4 separate regions of the Homo sapiens genome follow, and all the other regions are linked to region 1. The links are contacts of gene promoters, found by promoter capture Hi-C in blood cells and fetal thymus (Javierre and others, 2016). All regions are on one chromosome and are shown on one strand. Each heading gives the region's core, a stretch centred on a gene start or on the middle of the fragment in contact. The rest is flanking DNA. Distances are from core to core; before and after follow the strand shown. Region 1 holds the start of TSPAN5 (tetraspanin 5). Region 2 overlaps METAP1 (methionyl aminopeptidase 1). Region 3 has its middle 50 kb from the start of RAP1GDS1. Region 4 overlaps LOC105377340 (a long non-coding RNA gene).

Region 1 (3,006 bases), core at 209-2,708:
GAGAACTCTTTGTCTGGCTGCTGAACACGTTTGCCAGATCAAGGAAAAGAATCAAAACAAACAAACAAACAAAAAGAGTAGGCGTCCCAGCCTAATTACAATAGGTTCCCAACACATTGCAGTCCCAAGCAGAGCATCATTTGAATCTTGTGTTAAAGCATTTGCTCTCTCGGTTCCCCAATAAAACATGCCTCGCACACCTTCTCCTTTGCATTTCTACAAAGGTTCCCCCAAACGGCCCGCTCTGTGTCACTCCTTTAAAAATGAGGACGTGGGGCAGGAACACACTGAAATATATGTTGACGGTGACTTATTATCCTGACGATGATATATACATACAAATAAATCCCTCTACCCCGCACCCCCACTGACCAGTCCATTACGCACAGGGAGCGCTTTCCAGCTGAAGAGGAGAGCGTGCAGGAAACGTTATTTACGTGCAATTACAGGACCATATACCACGGCATCTGCATCCTACACAAAGCCCGAGATGGTGCAAGAAGATACACGCTGAGCATGGCACAGACCAGCCGCGGCAACACGGAGCCAAGCCCTCGTCCAATCAGATCGTTGTTAGAAGGTGGACCTCAGGGTCGGCCGTGCCCGATTAGCCTTCCCTATTATGACACCACGCTCTGCCCAACATCTATATCCCACCGAGAGCAAATCCAATTCGTGTGGTTGCTCATTTCTCAAACTGCCGAACCCTTTCTTTTATCTGCATCCCTGCTATTCGTTCCTCAAAAAGCCACCAGAAGGCCTCGGTGCCCCCTTTCCGCCTCGATTTCTCTTTTCACCTCTTCCCATTCCTCGAAAGGATTAAATGTTTATCTCTCCAACGCGCAAGCTGGAAAGGCGGAAGGCGAATGCCTCTATGCTGCTCCGGCAAGCGCCTGCGGGGCTGCGAAAAGTAAAGGCAACGAACAACGTGGGGGAAATCGTCGCGAATCGATCGGCCACAATAGTTGGAATCCCAGGAGCGCTCCAACTTACCCAAAATATGACATTGAAGCCAAATATGAAGTATTTGATGCAACAACTGACTTCAGGACCCTTGTAGTGCTTCCCGGACATCCTCTGGGTTCATGAAGACACTTGCCCCGGCAGCCCGAGTTTGGAGCTCCGAAGCACCGTTGCTCGGAGCAGCCCGGCGGGGAGCAGGAGCTCAGGGACACCGCACGGGGCCGCGGCGCTGGCGGCCTGGGCTCAGCCGCGCGGGGACCGACCGGCGGAGAGCGGCTCCCGCACCTCCAGCCCCTCGCGCGCCGAGGCCGCCGGAGCCGGGGTGGCCGCGAGAAAGCAGGGAAGCCGCGCGCTGCAAGCTCAAGCCTCGCCGACGCTAGCCCCGAACACAAAGCGAGCGCCCGCGTCCGTGCGCCAGGCGGTCGGTCCGTCGGTTCGTCCCCGGGCTTCGGGCAAAGGCGGCCGCGGCAGATGCTGGTGGAGACGCCGCTCGCTTGCTCGCCCGCCCGTTCGCGCGCGCCCTCCCACCCCTCGCTCCGCCCGCCTCTCGCTCCGCCCGCCCGGCCGGCTGCTCCTCCGCCCGCGCCGCCCGCAGCTCCGCCCGCCGCCCAAGCCTTGGCTAGGCGCGCGCGCGCACGGGGTCGGGCGCTCCCGGGCGGCGGTGGCACCACGTAGCCGCCTCCTTCCACCGCTCGCTTTATCCCCGCCCCTTCTCGGGCCAACCCCAAGCGCCGCTGACCCCGAACGTCGCTGCGGGGTAGGTAGGGGGTGGGAGGGTGGAGGACCGCAGGCGAGAGGGAGAAGGAAGGGCGCCCGGGGAGCAGGCTGGCAGAGTGACCGGGATTGATGAGCGGCGCAGCTCTGGAGGGACGCGGGCGAGAGGGTCGCTCCTCGGGGAGAGGGCTGGGTGAGTGAGGACCTGCGAGCCACCCCCGACACCCCTTCCAGGGTAGCCACACTGGCGCCCCCTCCTCCACAACAGGCTTATGTGGCTAGAGAAGATGCGATGCCACTGGACAGGGAAGGAAAGTCGTCGTGGACTTCGCTGAATGGAAAAGGGGGTAGTTGGGGAAGGTGGAGAAAAGAGCCACGGGAAGTGGGAGGAAAGGATGAAGGGATGGGACGTTGAAAAGGAAAGCTTCCTGAATCCCTGTGTGACTCTAACCCAACCTCCCCACCTACCGGAGAAATGGGTTTTATCCTAGAAATGGGGACGAGGAAAAAGAGATGGCTCAAGGGAGTCCTGGCCCGGGATGCGATCCTCGCCCTAGGGTCTATTGCAACCACACAAACCCGGACAGCGCACGCTCCCCCCTACCCCGACAGAATAGTGCCTAAGAAACCTGCTTGCCTCCTAACTCTAGGAAGGAATCCACAACGGATTCCAGGGAGGTCTTCTGGGGAATCTGAATTGGGTTTTTGGATCACGAACCATTAAGCTTTTGAACTCTGGGGAAGAATAGAACAGGTGGCTGGAAATTGTTTTAGAACCCTACCTGAGCAGGTGTGCTCATTAGTTGCTTATCCGCCCTCCTCCTGGAGCACTTTCATAGGTGTTGGCAAAGCAGGTACCAGTATTTCACGGAAGGAGAAGGAAGAACCGCCCAGGACTGTGTATAAATGTCTATGGGAATATTTTTAAGGATTCAAAAGGCTAGAAGGAGGTGAGATCAAAAAATTTTTCCAGCACCACCCAGTGCAACCCGATCCTGGACACAGAAATCTAAAAGATGATACTTAAATACTTGAGTTTGAGAGCCTCTAGTTATAAGGTTTCCTACGTAACAACCTCTCACTTTTCTCAAAAACTGGCTAGTTGACAACCGGCAGTCAAGTTTTGGCTAGTCAAGAAGCTACTTTTTCCTGCAATAAACCACATTTAGAGATAGTACTGGGCTTCAGCAGGATTGAGGCTATATTGAGGTCGCAAGTATGAACGAGGTACCCACAGAGATGGGAGGGCCAGGAGATCCTACTCATTCAGTACCTCAGAAGCTATGACACGGGATAACAGTAGCTTCAGCCCTTTGGATGAAATAATCC
Region 2 (3,008 bases), core at 63-2,562, 380 kb after region 1:
CATTTTTTTATTGGGATAGTATTAAATTTATAGATTAATTTTGGAAGAATTGACATCTTTACAATATTGAGTCTTCCTGTCCAGGAACAGGGTATGTTTTTAAAGTTTTATTTGACTCCTTTTATGTCTTTCAGTGGTGTTTTCAGATTTTCTTCATGTAGGGATTTTATTGTTAAATTTATTCCTGGGTACTTCATCTTTTTAGTTGTTTTTGTACATAATAGCTTCTGTATTTTTTAGCTGATTATTTGTATGTGGGAAAGTTATTGATTTTGATAAATTTATCTTAAACAATATGCCAACTTGCTGAATTTGTATTTATGGTCATTTACCAGGTGATTCTTCTGTTCTAGAGATACATAATCACATCTGAAATTGATAAGAATTTTGTCCTTTCTTTTCTAGTTTTATATGTTTTATTTCTTTCTCTTGTTTAATTGCATCTGCTAGTATTGCCAGGACAGTGTTAAATAATAGTGCCGATAGTGGGCATTCTGTAATGTTGGTTCTCAGTTTGAGATTTATATTTATCATGTCAAGGTGGTAGCTGGCCATGTTATCAGAATTAACTTTCCTTCTAGATGATTATTTACTTTTACTTTATTTATGAATGATGAATTGGATGAATAGATTTGTCAGTATTGAACTATCCTTGCCTTCTGGTATGAATCTCACTTGCATCCTGATGTATTAAGTTTTTTTGGATTCTGTTTGTTAATATTTTTATTTGGAATTTTTCCATTAGTACTTGTAAATAAGATTAGTTGACATTATTTTTGTTAGATTTTGAGTTAATTGCTATCCTGGCTTTATTACTTTTCATGTATGTAAAACTTGAAGCTAACAAATTTTATTAGTGAAGATTTTTAGGGCAATATTTTTAAAACTTTTTTGAGTATGACTCAGAAATGGCTTTTATAACGTGATCTTTGTATGTGTATATAAATAAAGATTTCATGGCAGCACTTATTCCTACTCCGTATAATACGAGTATAATACTTTGTTATGCCATTTTAATATTTTCTGTCCCATTTATTTACTTTTAAAAAATGTTAAGTGTAGCCTAATAAAAGGTCACAAACTGGAGATTGAAAAACACTTAACTTTGGTTCCTGTTTCAGAAAATAGTGTAATTAATTCATCAGTTGTTGATGTATAATTGCTTCATGAGATGATTATGAAAGTAATTTGTAAATTCTGTGGTACTTTTCAAATGTATATCATTTACTGAGTCTGATTATCACACGGCCTGGCATATAATAAGTACTCTATAAGTATTGGCTGATTTCTAATAGGTCTGAAAATTTATCTTTTAGAATTTTTTCTTCAGTTGGTTTAGCGAGTTTCCCTTTGATGTTGAAAATGTTTTTTTTTAAAAATCTAACCTAGACCATCCCAAATCATGAATTACTGTTGTGTGAAACAGTGAGACTACTGTTTTTATGCCACAGGTTTATAATTATGCAAATAAATACTACATCTTTGCATTCATTTTGGTTTTACTTACCGAATTTTCATTCCAGGAATGTCTGAATCTGAACAGGCTCTTAAAGGTACTTCTCAGATTAAATTACTCTCATCTGAAGATATAGAAGGGATGCGACTTGTATGTAGGGTAAGAGTGATTTTTTCTCCATGGGGTAGGAAATGTTTAAGCAGTACTTAGACATGAAGTCAGTGGTTTGCTGATTTATAAAGATAGCAAATGTTATATTGTTAGACTGACCAGCCATGCTTTTTTTTTTTTTTTAACTTTTTTTTGAGACAGAGTTTCACTCTGTCGCCCAGGCTGGAGTGCAGTGGCGTGATCTCTGCTCACTGCAACCTCCACCTTCTGTTTTCAAGCGATTCTTCTGCCTCAGCCTCCTGAGTAGCTGGGATTACAGGTGCCCACCACCACACCTGGCTAATTTTTGTATTTTTAGTAGAGATGGGGTTTCACCATGTTGCCCAGGCTGGTCTCGAACTCCTGACCTCGTGATCTGCCCACCTTGGCCTCCCAAAATGCTGGGATTACAGGCGTGAGCCACCACACCTGGCCTTTTTTTGTATTTTTAGTAGATACAGGGTTTCACCATGTTGGCCAGGCTGGTCTCTAACTCCTGACGTAAGGTGATCTGCCCGCCTCGGCCTCCCACAGTGCTGGGATTACAGGCGTGAGCCATTGTGCCCGGTTTAGCCATGCTTTTCATTAAACTATTGTTAGTATATAATTTTAGTCAACAGTTTTCTTCTTAAAAGCCTATTTCAGAATTAATCTGGTGGATAGTCTATATTTAGATGACAATCCTTTTCATTTATTTAATGATATTTAAAAACATTTTGTCATTTTATTTTCACAAGTCATCATAACATAGGACAGAGTTTAAGGCTCAGAGGGTTATGCTGTAGGCCTTTTTGTGAAATACCTATGATGAGTGGTAGTAGTGGTTGGTACTCATTAGGTGAAATCACATATTTATTCTGAAGGAAAATATAATACATTGATATTATTCATTTAAGTAAGATTCTTAAGGTTTCTATTCAGTGCTTTAAAAGTGATTTGATTCTAATTTTGTTTGATATCCTGGAGAACTTTCTCTTCCTATGACTTGCTGTGATTCTTTGAGGAATTCATTCATCTATTTTTTTTTTTTTGAGACAGGGTCTTGCTATCACTCAGGCTAGAGTACAGTGGCACAATCATAGATCATATAGATCATAGCTCATAGCTTACTGTAACTCCAAACTCCTGGGCTCAAGCTATCCTTCCACCTCAGCCTCCTGAGTAGCTGGGATCACAGGCATGTGCCACTACACCTGACTACTTTTTTTTTTTTTTTTTTTAAGAGACAGGATCTCACTATGTTGCCCAGGCTCATCTGTTCTTTTTTCTTTTCCTCTACTTTTCCCCATTATAGAAATGAGAGAAGACTACCTCTATCAGTTGATGATAGTTTAGATTTCTTAGGATGTATATTTTCACATAGAAATCAGCCAACCTTACTGCTGCTTGCTTGTTAACCCAA
Region 3 (2,845 bases), core at 252-2,751, 450 kb before region 1:
ATTTAGAATTGGTGGTAGTTGTCACGTTTTTGTTTTTGTTTTTGTGTTTGTTTTTGTTTTTGTTTTTGAGACAGGGTCTCTTTCTCTCACCCAGGCTGGAGTACAGTAGTACAAACATAGCTAATTGTAGCCTTGACGTCCTGGGCTCAAGTGATCCTCCTGCCTCAGCCTCCTGTGTAGCTGGGATTACAGGTGCATGCCACCATGTCTGGCTAATTTTTTAAATTTTTTTGTAGAGACAGGGTCTCACTTTGTTGCCCAGGCTGGTCTTGAACTCCTGAGCTCAAGAGATCCTCCCACCTCAGCCCTAAAGTGCTAGGATTACAGGTGTTAGCCACTGTGCCAGGCCATGTTTTTGTTGTGGAATGGTAATATTATTATGGATTTTATATGCTTTAAGGCTGTGTGAGCAGATGCACGCTTAGTTCAGATTTACGCCATATAACATGCATTATTGCAAAATAGTAGCTGAAGTTGGTAATTTTTTTCTTACTGGTCTTCAATGGGCCCATTTTTGGTGCAACCCTGGTCAGAGAATATATGGGAATGTTGTTTCGCATAGACTTGGGGTCATATGTAGTTTGCAAGGGAGAGTTTCTTATTTGTCTCTTACCCACCCCTCATTCCCGTGGTTGGTTTTCTTTCACCATTTTTATACACTACTTTCCTGACCATTACTTCCACCTCCTAAGTCTAGCGTGAGTACTTTTCATCTCTGCTACTGTGATAGGTTACCCTGAGTTGTTAACATGTAGCCAATAATAAATGATGACATTCCCGACATTTTCACAAGGAATAAAACAATGTATATAGGTGTACATGTCAATTTTTGATGTCCAAACTCATTTCATGCTTTTTCTAACCTTTATTTTTTGCCATTATTTCTAACATCTATTTCTGGGCAAAGTTTTCTAGATGAAAACTTCCTGATTTGTTGACATTTTCTGGTTGAATAACTGCCAGATTCTCATTTGGCCTTTATGCTTCATTCAGCTCCAAGTGGATAAACACTAACAAGGAAAGAAAACAGATATTCAGAACCAGCCTAACTAACATACGGGTTTTTTTTTTCCTACTCTGCCAATGTCACTAGTATTATTGCAGCTTCAATTAATAAATGTGGATTGTTGCAGCCAAAACACAATTATTATTTTTCCAGCAATTGTATTAAAACAGTATTAAAATGATTATTCAGGTACCCAACTCTTTAAGGACAGATGGGATTCTATATAACTGTCTGAAAAGCTAATTTGGCAAAATGATATTTGTTATTTTAATTACAGAATTGGAGAGGTATTACCATGGAAAACAAATTCTCCATTTGGCTGAGTCCAGAGCTTTCAAGAAGGAAAAGATTGCTATGGTGATCATTATTGTGGTTTGCTGGCTATCGTCAGATAATAGCATTCCAGATGAGCAAGGCACCTAGTGATCAGCAATTTTTGCCTTCGGTTTTTGAACATTTGGGCAGACCTTAGCAATGCCTTCTCTACTCCATGATCTGCTCTTTCATTATTTCTTTCTATTGCAGAATCCTGTTTTGCCTGAGTATGTCCAGGTTCTTCACAGAATTCTCCTACCTTTTATACTTTTTAAATGTTAAAAATTAAAAATATTAAAAAATAATAAATAAAATAAAATATGTTAATGGACCTGAACAGATAGGTGACTAATACATGTTGTATTCCTCCAGCAAATATCTTAACTTCAGATAATGTGTTAGCTCCCTATTTTGTCAATTTTGTAAGTGTGAAGTTTCATTTATTAAGTAATGAATGATATCTACTATGAGTAACATTTCATATATAATAAACCTCACTATTAATATAGAAAGTATGGATTATTAGCAACAGTATATTAATTAATACTCAATTAGCCTGGAGTCTCTCTGAGCCTACTCTGGCTCAGGATGCTGCCTGATAAAAAAAAAAAAAAGAAAGAAAAAACTTCAGCTAGAAGGACTGCAAATATTTTTTAATGTGAAGACCTGTTTTCATCTGAGATGTAAAAGGAAAAGACTGAAATTTTACTGGTTAGTATAATGATCATTGGAAAGTGACAATAATGCTTTCAAAATTATGATTAGATGAGAAATCAAAATGTTTTTAATGTTTTTAAAATAAGGGTTTTTTTTAGACGGGCTCTCACTCTGTTGCCCAAGCTGAAGTGCAGTGGCATGATCATGGCTCACTGCAACCTCAACTTTCCGGGCTCAGGTGATCATCCTACCTCAGCCTCCCTAGTAGCTGGGGCTACAGGTATGTGCCATCACACCGGGCTAATTTTTGTGGGTTTTTTTGTTTTGTTTTGTTTTGTTTTTGAGACGGAGTCTCTCACTGTCACTCGGGCTGGAGTGCAATGGTGCGATCTCGGCTCACTACAACCTCTGCCTCCCAGGTTCAAGCAATTCTCCTTGCCTCAGCCTCCCAAGTAGCTGGGTTTACAGGCGTCCACCACCACGCCCAGCTAATTTTTTTGTATTTTTAGTAGAGACGGGGTTTCACTATGTTGGCCAGGCTGGTCTCGAACTCCTGACCTTGTGATCTGTCTGCCTCAGCCTCCCAAAGTGCTGGGATTACAGGTGTGAGCCACTGCACCCAGCCAATTTTTGTATTTTTTTTTTTAGATGGGGTTTTACCATGTTGGTTAGCCTGGTCTTGAACTCCTGGATTGAAGCAATCCTCCCACCTCACCCTCCCAAAGTGCTAGGATTACAGGTATGAGCCATCACACCTGGCCTAAAAATAAGTTCTTGAAGTTAAGCTACAATATGCAATTTGGATGGGAAGTTTCTTGAAATCTAATTTTTTTTTTTTTTTTTGAGACGGAGTCTGGCTCTGTCGCC
Region 4 (2,700 bases), core at 146-2,645, 470 kb before region 1:
CTTTTGTTGTTTGTTTGTTTTGATACAGAATCTCACTCTGTTGCTCAGTGGCACAATCTCAGCTCACTGCAACCTCTGCCTCCTGGGTTCAAGCGATTCTTCTGCCTCAGCCTCCTGAGTAGCTGGGATTACAGGTGCACACCACCATGCCCGGCCAATTTTGTATTTTTAGTAGAGGCGGGGTTTCGCCATGTTGGTCAGGCTGGTCTCGAACTCCTCACCTTGTGATCTGCCCGCCTTGGCCTCCCCAAGTGTTGGGATTACAGGCGTGAACCACTGTGCCCGGCCACCTGTTTCTTTTTATATATTTATTTATTTGAGACCACGGGCATGTGCCACCATACTCAGCTAATTTATTTTTTTCAGAGGTGGGGTCTTCCTATGTTGCCCATGCTGGTCTTGAACTCCTGGCCTCAAATGATCCTCCTGCCTCTGCTCCCCAAAGTGCTGGGGTTACAGGTATGAGGCATCATAACTGGCCGGTTTTTGTTTTTTTCTTGTGATGTGGTCATTTATTCTGTGTCCTGGTATGCCTACAATTTTCTACTAAATATTGGGCATTGTGTATGAAAAGTTGTAGTAATAACTTGAAGCTTTCAATGATGTTTTCTTTCTCTGGAGATTACTTTTTATTTTTCTGGTAGGCAGTCAAATAGAGCTAGATCACCTGAATATATTCTGTGATGGTACTGATTCAAAGCTAAGTTTCTTTTTTAAAAATTAAACTTAATTTAATTTAATTTTTTTGTAGAGACATGGTCTTGATATGTTGCCCAGGCTGGTCTCAAGCTCCTGGCCTCAGGCAATCCTCCCACCTCTACATCCCAAAGTGCTGGGATTACAGGCATGAGCCACCATGCCCAGCCTAACAGCTGAGTTTTAGTCTTTGCAATGGCTCTGTATTTTCAGTTTACACCACTCCTAGGATTATCCTTCCATAGGTTTCACTAAAAAATCTGGAGTGTTTACAAGAGTCATTTGCCTTGGATGGATGCTGAACTCCAAATTTTGTCTCCCCAGTATCATAAGACTGATAAAAATTCTGCTTAATGAATCTCTTGGTCAATGCTTTCTGTTTGATTTCTTTTTTTTCTTTCTTTCTTTTTGAGACAGAGTTTCACTCTTGTTGCCCAGGCTGCAGTGTAATGACATGATCTCGGCTCACTGCAACCTCCACCTCCAGGGTTCAAGTGATTCTCCTGCCTCAGCTTCCTGAGTAGCTGGGATTACAGGCATGCGCCACCATGCCCAGCTAATTTTGTATTTTTAGTAGAGATGGGGTTTCTCCATGTTGGTCAGGCTGGTCTTGACTCCTGACCTCAGGTGATCCGCCTGCCTTGGCCTCCCAAAGGGCTAGGATTACATGCGTAAGCCACCGTGCCTGGCTTTCTGTTTAATTTCTAATCCCCTCATTCTATACCACCCACAATCAGCAAATTCCTTGAGGGGATAAATAACAAAGACTGTTAGGATCATCTCAATTTCTGTGTCTTCTTTCCAAGATCTTGGTTGATGGGTTCCTAGTTCCCAGTTGCCTAGTTCTCTGATATTTTCAAACCAAATTTTTTTATTTCATTCAGTTTCTTTTAAAGCTGTTGTTGACATTGGGGGTAGGTCTGATAAAAGCTAGTCTATTTGCTTAAAAGAGAATTACCAAGACGATATCAAGATACCTAGTGTTAGAAATAAATGCTTGTTCCTTGGTGCCAAAAAGAAGAACTAGCGCTCAAAGAATTTTCTCAGCAAGGCAATTTTACTTTCTGCAGAAAGGGTGCTTTTTGGAAGCCTGATTGTCACGAGAGCACCTTGAACAAAGAAAAGCAGAGGTTTTTATTCCTGACGCATTGGGTCCTTACTGCTGTGTCCTATCTCCATTGGCTGGAGCTGGACTGCACAATCTAGACTGATCCCGATTAGCTAAAAACTTAAAACTTTCCTAAACAGGCAAATGTGCGACAGAGAACAAGGAAAGGAAGGGGGTTGTTTATGGGAAACTAGGAGAACAATAACATTTCCAAATAAGGAAGGGGCGTAGGCTGTAAGCCAGGAAATGCCTGGGCATGTTCAGATACGTCTGAGCAGGTTATAGGCCAGAATAAATAACTTGGTTGAAGTACAAGGACATAGAATGTACTTATTCCCTTACTATATGTAACAGCTACACAGGGCTTAGCAAAGAGTTATTAGCAAAAAGCAAGGAAGCTTGAAGGAAGTTAGTTTTTAAAAGAAACTATTATTTCTAACACTTATTTATTCTTTAACGAAAAGGGAAACTTTGAAGAGGAACTTTTTACTTTTCACAACAGTGACAGAGCCTTCTGGGTATAATTGTTCCTAATTGTGCAGTTTATGCAAATAGAGATGACAAAAAATATTTTATTGGCCACTTTAGGACAAATTGCTAAAGAGACCACAAAACACATTGCAGCACAACAAAAGTCTCTAAATTCCTTAGCTTTAATGTTTTAGCAAAATGTATATGTTTTATATAGCTAATTGCTACAAATCTAACTAAAACCAAGATTACAGTAGCTCAATGCATAGACTTTATAGATAAGTCAACTTTGTAATCCTGCTTTTGGGTTTAGTTTTTGACTCCTGTGTTGCTTAAAAGGTTTTAAGGGTTCATGAGTGCCTGTCCACCTCCATTCCCTTCTAGCCTAGAATGTCTAATTTGCTGTAAATCTTTTAGCTCTAAGT

The links. Contacts are between HindIII fragments. The CHiCAGO score rates a contact against its expected background, and 5 or more counts as called.
Region 2: a fragment that was not itself captured here is called in contact with the fragment with the promoter of TSPAN5 in region 1 in 1 of 17 cell types (erythroblasts); the score reaches 5.5 in erythroblasts.
Region 3: a contact is called between a fragment that was not itself captured here and the fragment with the promoter of TSPAN5 in region 1, in 1 of 17 cell types (total B cells). The highest score is 5.2, in total B cells.
Region 4: a contact is called between a fragment that was not itself captured here and the fragment with the promoter of TSPAN5 in region 1, in 1 of 17 cell types (total B cells). The highest score is 5.4, in total B cells.

Annotation. Positions count from the first base shown.
Region 1 is chr4:98,657,153-98,660,158 of GRCh38, forward strand. TSPAN5 (tetraspanin 5) reads right to left here and starts at 1,459. Exons shown (of 8, transcript NM_005723.4): 1 at 994-1,459. The coding sequence starts at 1,074. It overlaps TSPAN5-DT (TSPAN5 divergent transcript), which reads left to right and starts at 1,750. Exons shown (of 3, transcript NR_148380.1): 1 at 1,750-1,870. It overlaps LOC112267901 (a long non-coding RNA gene), which reads left to right and starts at 1,571. Exons shown (of 3, transcript XR_939016.3): 1 at 1,571-1,720. RefSeq lists silencers at 1,024-1,183, 1,437-1,616. The HindIII fragment of the contact is 4,978 bases long and covers 1-2,099 here.
Region 2 is chr4:99,037,851-99,040,858 of GRCh38, forward strand. METAP1 (methionyl aminopeptidase 1) reads left to right here. Exons shown (of 11, transcript NM_015143.3): 5 at 1,524-1,615. Among named protein-coding and RNA genes, the nearest start is that of MIR3684, 42 kb to the left of the region's middle. The HindIII fragment of the contact is 4,344 bases long and covers 1-3,008 here.
Region 3 is chr4:98,209,486-98,212,330 of GRCh38, forward strand. No RefSeq gene overlaps it. Among named protein-coding and RNA genes, the nearest start is that of RAP1GDS1, 50 kb to the right of the region's middle. The HindIII fragment of the contact is 4,901 bases long and covers 1-2,845 here.
Region 4 is chr4:98,191,899-98,194,598 of GRCh38, forward strand. The region is part of intron 1 of LOC105377340 (a long non-coding RNA gene); the gene reads right to left. Among named protein-coding and RNA genes, the nearest start is that of STPG2, 50 kb to the left of the region's middle. The HindIII fragment of the contact is 1,609 bases long and covers 592-2,200 here.